Regions from separate parts of the Homo sapiens genome. Here all the other regions are linked to region 1. The links are contacts of gene promoters, found by promoter capture Hi-C in human tissues and cell types (Jung and others, 2019). All regions are on one chromosome and are shown on one strand. Each heading gives the region's core, a stretch centred on a gene start or on the middle of the fragment in contact. The rest is flanking DNA. Distances are from core to core; before and after follow the strand shown. Region 1 holds the start of SLC19A1 (solute carrier family 19 member 1). Region 2 has its middle 5.0 kb from the start of PRMT2. Region 3 overlaps S100B (S100 calcium binding protein B).

The links. The method cuts DNA at HindIII sites, captures the fragments that hold promoters and counts their contacts. A contact is called where the count stands out against the background at its distance.
Region 2: a fragment that was not itself captured here is called in contact with the fragment with the promoter of SLC19A1 in region 1 in 1 of the 25 tissues and cell types used here (dorsolateral prefrontal cortex).
Region 3: a fragment that was not itself captured here is called in contact with the fragment with the promoter of SLC19A1 in region 1 in 1 of the 25 tissues and cell types used here (dorsolateral prefrontal cortex).

What each region holds. Positions count from the first base shown.
Region 1 is chr21:45,541,166-45,543,746 of GRCh38, reverse strand. SLC19A1 (solute carrier family 19 member 1) reads left to right here and starts at 1,307. Exons shown (of 6, transcript NM_194255.4): 1 at 1,307-1,379. RefSeq lists silencers at 1,034-1,113, 1,154-1,463, 1,814-1,873 and an enhancer at 667-1,179. The HindIII fragment of the contact is 13,138 bases long and covers 1-2,581 here.
Region 2 is chr21:46,629,416-46,631,996 of GRCh38, reverse strand. No RefSeq gene overlaps it. Among named protein-coding and RNA genes, the nearest start is that of PRMT2, 5.0 kb to the left of the region's middle. The HindIII fragment of the contact is 6,587 bases long and covers 1-2,581 here.
Region 3 is chr21:46,596,753-46,599,333 of GRCh38, reverse strand. It overlaps S100B (S100 calcium binding protein B), which reads left to right. Exons shown (of 3, transcript NM_006272.3): 3 at 1-730. Among named protein-coding and RNA genes, the nearest start is that of S100B, 7.0 kb to the left of the region's middle. The HindIII fragment of the contact is 6,650 bases long and covers 1-2,581 here.

The DNA.
Region 1 (2,581 bases), core at 58-2,557:
AAATTCTGCAAGCTACCCCAGATCCCCCATTTCCAGCCAACAAATCCTTTTTAAGTTCCTTTGAGATTTGTTCGTGTGGCTTGCTACACTCAGGACTCTGGAAAGAAGGCCCAGGCCAGAGCTTTGGGCAGGCGGCCATTTAGGGCAAGGGCCCTGTGTTGGCTTCCTGGTGGGGTTGCCCTGCTGGTGGGCGGGAGACCAAGAGCACCCCCGCAACACCAGGAGGCAGGTCGCGGATTGTGCTGTCTACACTCCGGAAGGGGTACATTCCAGGGGCTGCTGCCCCAGACTCACCCCTCGCCTGGGACCCGCACTCTTGAGCTGTGGGTACCACGGTGGCCGTCCCCTTCTGTTCTGTGCAGTGGACTTCCTGGCTCCTCCTTAGCCTTGGGGCCCCCACAGCCCTCGGCTTGGCTTCCCTCCCCATAGCCAGGCCCTGGGTAACTCCAGGGGAAAGTGACCCTGAGGCCCCCCACTTCTCCCCGTGTCCTGCACAGGCCTTGGGCTTTCGGCGGTGCTGTCTGCCGCAGCCCCACGCCTTCCTGGGAGAGTGGCCCAGGCCCCCCTTCCTGAGTGTGACTGCGCTGCCGTCTGCGAGGCCTGCGCGGGTCTCCCCCGGGCTGTCCCTGCTGGGATGGGGACTGGTGGCCCCGGGCCACGTCCTGGATCCGGCTTGCTCCTTGGTACAAGCCCGTACGGGTCACGGTCAGGCAGGAGGGCGGGCGGCGGGGTCCCGGGGGCGCCGAGTTCGGGGCCGTGCGGTCCCCAAGAGCAGGCTGTGCGTGTCCCTGTTGGAGCCCCACGAAGGCGGCCCAGGGCCACCCCTGAGGGCGCGTGGGCCCGACCCGCGTCCCGGATCCAGCTTGCGGCCAGGAATGCAGGTGTTCCAGGGTGCCAAAAGGAAAACGCACAAGGCCTCGTCGAGGAGGGGGGGTCAGGAGGGGACCGGGGGTGGGAAGAACGCGGGGGAGAGGGATGGCAGGGTGCCCGCCCGAGGGACCGACACCTCCGCGAGTGGCACCCCAGGATGCTGACGCCGGCGGGGGTGGGGGCCCGAGGGGCGGTCGGGGTCAGGGGGCGGCCCCAGGGGTAGGGCCGCAGCACGAGGGGCCGCGTGACCCCGGCGGTGACCGGGTGGGGAGAGGCCGGCGCCGGGGCTGGGAGACGGCCGTGGGTGGGAGGGTGCCCCGTGGGGACGCTCCTGCCGCAGCGCCCGGCCACGCGCGAGGCCCCGCCCTCAGGACGCGTTCGGCGGGACGGACCCGCCCACCCCGCAGCCGCGCGCCCGCCGCGCCGCCTTGTGGGCGCTGTAGTCCCGGAGTCCGCGTGCGCGGGGCCGGGTCCGGGAGCCCCAGGGCAGCCGCCCCGCCGAGTCGCAGGTACCGGTGGGGAACGGGGCCACGGGGCCGCGTGTCGGGGGCTGCGGGGTGTCTCGGGGCCCTGGGGTGAGTGCGGGGCGCGGGCCGAGGTTTGCAGGGCCCTGTGAGGTGAGTGTGGGGGCTGGCGCTGGGGTCCGCGGGGCCCTGGGGAGGGTGCGGGGCGTGGGCCGGGGTCTGCGGTCTGCAGCCTGGGGTCCGCGGGGCCCTGGGGAGGGTGCGGGGCGTGGGCCGGGGTCTGCGGTCTGCAGCCTGGGGTCTGGGGGGCCCTGGGGAGGGTGCGGGGCGTGGCCGGGGTCTGCGGTCTGCAGCCTGGGGTCTGGGGGGCCCTGGGGAGGGTGCGGGGCGTGGGCCGGGGTCTCCGCGGGGGTCGCGGTGGCCCGGGCGCCTGGCAGAACCGTTGCTGTGCAGCGGGTTTCCCGCCGCTCGCTTTCCGCCGCAGCCTGCGAATGGGGTGGGGAGTCCCGGCCCCCAGCCTGCCCTCCGCGTCATCCTGGGGCGCCAAGTCCCACCCCCGGGTCTGGAGGAAAGCGTGGATCCGGCGTTCGCGCCCAGGCACGTGTTGCTTCGGGACGGGCCAGCCGGTGGGTGAACCCTGCCAGCCACGCGTGGGGCGGGCCCCTGGCACATCTCCAGACCATTGTCTCCTGTGCCAGAAGCTTTGTAGGTGCAACTTCCCCTTGGAGCAGCTGTGGGTGCGGATCCAGCGGAGCAATCCCGAGGCGTCTCAGAGAGAGCCTGGACAGCCGCTGGAGCCTTTCCCGAGTGGGTCCTTCCAACACCGCTACAGCAGGAAAGCCATCCCCCTAGGGTCCTGTCCATCGGAAACTCCTGTCCTGGGGAGTCTGGCCTGCCTGGCCTCAGGACACAGGCCAACTAAGCTGGCCCCGAAATCCAGAATGCATCCAGAGGGAAGGTGGGATAAAGTCCTTGGAGGCGCCTGTTGGCCGCCCTGTAAAGAGGTGGCCTCCCCCTACGGAGACCCGAGGATCCCCGCACAGCCCAGATTCAATCAGCAGAGCCGAGGTGCCTCTGGCCCAGTGCACCTGCCTGCCCTGTCCAGGCCTGGGAGCCAGGCTGCATCTCACTGGCCGCCTTTGCCTGGGTGCCACCTGTGCACTGCTTGTTGCAATTGCTAATTGCTTTCTTTCCGAAGGGGCTTTGGTGGATTTTTATAATTCCAGATAGTACAGTTATCTCTGCTG
Region 2 (2,581 bases), core at 61-2,560, 1.1 Mb before region 1:
CAAATGTTAAGTTTACTTAAAATCTTTAATAAATAAGTTAGCTTTAAAAATAGTGGCAAAGTAATTTAGAAATGTCTTAAGAATTGCCAGCATACATTTTTGTTTGCATTTATTTATCAAGCAATTTCCTACTTATCCCTGCCAATTACTATAAGGTGTCAACATTTGGCATAGGGGTTACAAAACTATAAACCCAGCCCCAAATGGAAGAACATAAATGGCCTGATGGAGCTGAAAAACACAGCACGAGAACTTCATGAAGCATACACAAATATCAATAGCCAAATCAATCAGGTAAAAGAAAGGATATCAGAGACTGAAGATCAACTTAATGAAATAAAGTGTGAAGATAAGATTAGAGAAAAAATAATGAAGAGAAATGAACCCTTCTCAAAAGAAGACATTAATGCGGCCAATAAACGTGAAAAAAAACTCTTCATCACTGGTCATTACAGAAATGCAAATCAAAACCACAATGAGATATCATCTCACACCAGTTAGAAAGGTGATCATTAGAAAGTCAGGAAACAACAGATGCTGGAGAGGATGTGGAGAAATAGGAACGCTTTTACGCTGTTAGTGGGAGTGTAAATTAGTTCAACCATTGTGGAAGACAGTGTGGCGATTCCTCAATGATCTAGAACCAGAAATACCATTTGACCCAGCAATCCCATCACTGGGTATATGCCCAAAGGAATATAAATCATTCTACTATGAAGACACATGCACACACGTATGTTTATTGCAGCACTGTTCACAATAGCAAAGACTTGGAACCAACACAAATGCCCATCAGTGATGGACTGGATAAAGAAAATGTGGCACATATACACCATGGAATACTATGCAGCCATAAAAAGGATGAGTTCATGTCCTTTGCAGGGACATGGATGAAACTGGAAACCATCATTCTCAGCAACTAACACAAGAACAGAAAACCAAACACCACATGTTCTCACTCATAAGTGGGAGCTGAACAATTAGAACATGTGGACACAGGGAGGGGAACATCTCACACCAGGACCTGTCAGCGGGTGGGGGGCTAGGGGAGGGATAGTACTAGGAGAAATACCTAATGTAGATGATGGGTTGATGGGTGCAGCAAACCACCATGGCACGTGTATATGTAACAAACCTGCACATTCTGCACATGTATCCCAGAACTTACAGTATAATGATAAAAAAAAAAGAGAAAAATCTGCTGATGTATAATTCTAAGCCTAAGAAGAATAGCCATTACAAAGGAAGTCAAAATAAATTCATTTTCAGATAAACAGAATCTGACTGAAGCAAACATGCACTAAAATGCTAAAAGAAGAACTTCAGGCTAAAATAAGATAATCTCATAACTGCAGGAAGGACAGAAGAGTACTAGAAAGTGTAAATAAATGGATAAATGTATTTTTAACATTTGTCCTTAAATCAACAATAATTGTGACTTGTGAGGTTTATAATGTGTAGAGGTGGAATATATGCCAACAGCCGCACACAGAGCAAGGGGGATAAATAAACAATTGTAACGTGCTGGATCTTTGTTAGGACAAAGCAAAAGTATCCTAATAACTTCAGGCAGGTCAAGAGTGCATAATGAGATCTCAAAAAATACAATGATGTATGACAACAAGCAAAATAGAAGATAAAAGAAAAATAATAAATTTTAAAAATGGAAAAGAAAACAGTAAGAGAGTACTACAGAAATAAAAAACAGACAAGACAAATGAAAAATAAACAGCAGTGCAGCAAACCACCATGGCACGTGTGTACCTATGTAACAAACCTTCACGTTCTAGGCATGTATCCCAGAACTTAAAGTATAATAAAAAATAAAATAAAAATAAACAGCAAGGTGGCAGAATTAAACCCAACTATATTTGTAACAACATTAAATGTAAAGATAGAAAACATGCCTTTTTTTTTTTTTTTTGAGACAGAGTCTAGCCCTGTCACCCAGGCTAAAGTACAGTAGCACAATCTCAGATCACTGCAACCTCTGCTTCCTGGGTTTAAACGATTCTCATGCCTCAGCCTCCCGAGTAGCTGGAATTAAAGCCGTGTGCCACCCTTCCCAGCTAATTTTTTTTTCTGTATATTTAGTAGAGATGAGGTTTCACCATGTTGGTCTGCCTGATCTCGAACTCCTGACCTCAAGTGATCCACCCACCTCAGCCTCCCAAAGTGCTGGGATTACAGGTGTGAGCCACCGTGCCCGGCCAATGCCAATATTTTTAAGTATCTCTTTTAGAGATTTGACTAAATGGTAGTTATAAGAAACATACTTTACTATAAAGAAACATTTAGTTGAAAGTAAAAGAGTGAAACAATACCACACCAACACAAACCATACTGATAGTGTAAAACACAAATCATACTGATATTGTAAAAAGCAGACTTTAATGCAAATGGTATTACCAGAAATAAGAGAATTATTTCATAATGATAAAATGTCAATTCAGTAGAAAGAAATAGCAGCCCCAGATTTGTGTGTCTATAACATACCTTCAAAATATAAAATCCAGAAATTCAAAAATTAATATAACTCAAAGGAGAAACGGAACCATCCATAATTGTAGTTGGGGAATTT
Region 3 (2,581 bases), core at 45-2,544, 1.1 Mb before region 1:
ACAGAGACGGTCATGCAAGAAAGCAGACAGCAAGGGCTTGCAGCCTAGTAGGAGCTGAGCTTTCCAGCCGTGTTGTAGCTAATTAGGAAGCTTGATTTGCTTTGTGATTGAAAAATTGAAAACCTCTTTCCAAAGGCTGTTTTAACGGCCTGCATCATTCTTTCTGCTATATTAGGCCTGTGTGTAAGCTGACTGGCCCCAGGGACTCTTGTTAACAGTAACTTAGGAGTCAGGTCTCAGTGATAAAGCGTGCACCGTGCAGCCCGCCATGGCCGTGTAGACCCTAACCCGGAGGGAACCCTGACTACAGAAATTACCCCGGGGCACCCTTAAAACTTCCACTACCTTTAAAAAACAAAGCCTTATCCAGCATTATTTGAAAACACTGCTGTTCTTTAAATGCGTTCCTCATCCATGCAGATAACAGCTGGTTGGCCGGTGTGGCCCTGCAAGGGCGTGGTGGCTTCGGCCTGCTTCCCGGGATGCGCCTGATCACCAGGTGAACGCTCAGCGCTGGCAGCGCTCCTGGAAAAAGCAACTCCATCAGAACTCGCAATCCGAGCCAGCTCTGGGGGCTCCAGCGTGGCCTCCGTGACCCATGCGATTCAAGTCGCGGCTGCAGGATCCTTGCCTCCAACGTGCCTCCAGCACATGCGGCTTCCGAGGGCACTACCGGGGGCTCTGAGCCACCGCGAGGGCCTGCGTTCAATAAAAAGAGCGCAGCTTGGGAGGCCGAGGCAGGTGGATCACAAGGTCAGGAGTTGGAGACCAGCCTGACCAACATGGTGAAACCCCGTCTCTACCAAAAATACAAAAAGTAGCCTGGCGTGGTGGCGCGTGCCTATATTCCCAGCTACTTGGGAGGCTGAGGCAGGAGAATCGCTTGAACCCGGGAGGTGGAGGTTGCAGTGAGCCGAAATCGCGCCACTGCACTCCAGCCTGGGCGACAGAGCAAGACTCCTTCTCAAAAAAAAAAAAAGCGCAGCAACAGCGATCCAGCGCCATCAAAAGGCAACGCAAGCAAAAAACGCGGCTTCCCTTCTGCCCCCGCTAGGGGGAGGCTTCCCCGGGGGCGTCCAGCCACTCCACAGGGGACTTCCGGCCTGTTGGGTCACATGTTCTTCCCTAAGCCAATCACCAGGAAGGGGAGCTGCCAATGGTCCCGGGCAGTCACGTGCCTTTCCACAATGCATGCTGGGCCACCAGCCCCATTCCCGGTGTTCACTGCGCTCCCCGTGGTCCTTGGCCTCCATCTCAGAAAGCTCACGTTCCTCAGGGTCCCTCTGTGCCTTCTGAACAGTAGCGGGTAAAACAGGAAGTCCTGCCTGTCCCAGGCAGTGTGGGAGGCCCGGAGGCTCGCAGGGCCCGAGGCTGGGTGGGGCAGAGGTAGGAACCACAGCTGTGATGGCCGAGAGATGGGTTGGTGAGAGGGGCCTGGGAGAGGCCGGAGGGGACCCAGCGAGGCCACTTCACATCTAGCCACCTGGGGAGTCCCCAGGGCCCTGTGCTCACTTCTCGCTCAGCTCTCGCCTTCTGGAAATTCGTGGTTACTTTTGGCCAAAGGGCGATGTTTTCATTTCGCACCGGGCCCTGCAAAGCTGGTCCTGGTGCATGCTCTGGGCTGGCGGGCAGGAGACCAAGCTTGGGAGGCCCAGGGTGCGACCTTAAGTTGGGGGGCGGGAGGGGCGCTGCTGCCGGGGGGCAGCTCTGGGCTGCCCTTGGCTCGGGTGCCCGCCTCCCACCTGCATTCCTCCCCAGAGGATGCTCTGCCGCCTCGGCCGGAAGTTGAATCGGCCCTTCCAGAGCCTCTTTTGCCCACACTGATCCAAGAATCCTAAAGTGACTAAGTCCCCAGAAGCCTACTCTGCTTCCAAACCAGATAGGGAGAACATTGGTCCTCCAAGGAGCTTGGCTCCAGCACCATCCCTCAGGGATTCCCAGGGCAGCTTCTGAGCACACGGGGGCTCCTCCACCATCCAAAGGGGGTCTGGGGGGACTTATCCAATCAACTGCCGTTAGTTCCAGGCTGTAAATGCCAACCGTCCTCTCCTGGCAATCCCTAGCTGAGTGTGGCCCGCCCTCACCCAGAGGCACCTTCCAGTTCCATGAGTGGGTGGTGGTAGTCGCCACAGCTTGGTGGCCAGCACAGGCCTGGCCTACCCCAAAGGCTGCCTCCAGCATCCCCAGGTGGACAGGGGATGGGCCCGGGCAAGGGGGTGGGGGAAACCCGCCCCCAGCTTTGACCAGGAACACATGGAGTTCGCTCAGGCCTGGAGAGCAGGACCAGGTGTGAAAAGTCTGTTTTCATGAACCTGTTGCCCAGGCTGCCATTTCCATGGCCAGTTCAGCCACAGAAATTTTCTGTGCTCCATCAATTTCTCCGTTTGATCCACAAGATTCTGGGCCACAGCCACTTCGCAAATCTGGCCCTGCCAGCAGTGTTGGTCTCTCAGGGTGGAGACCCTGGGGCCAAGCTGAGGACCCCATTTGTTGACTTGCAGTGAGAAGGTGCTGTTGAGAAGTTGGGCTGCAGGAACCCACCATCTCTGGACGCTGCGGACCATCCTCTACAGGGGCTGCT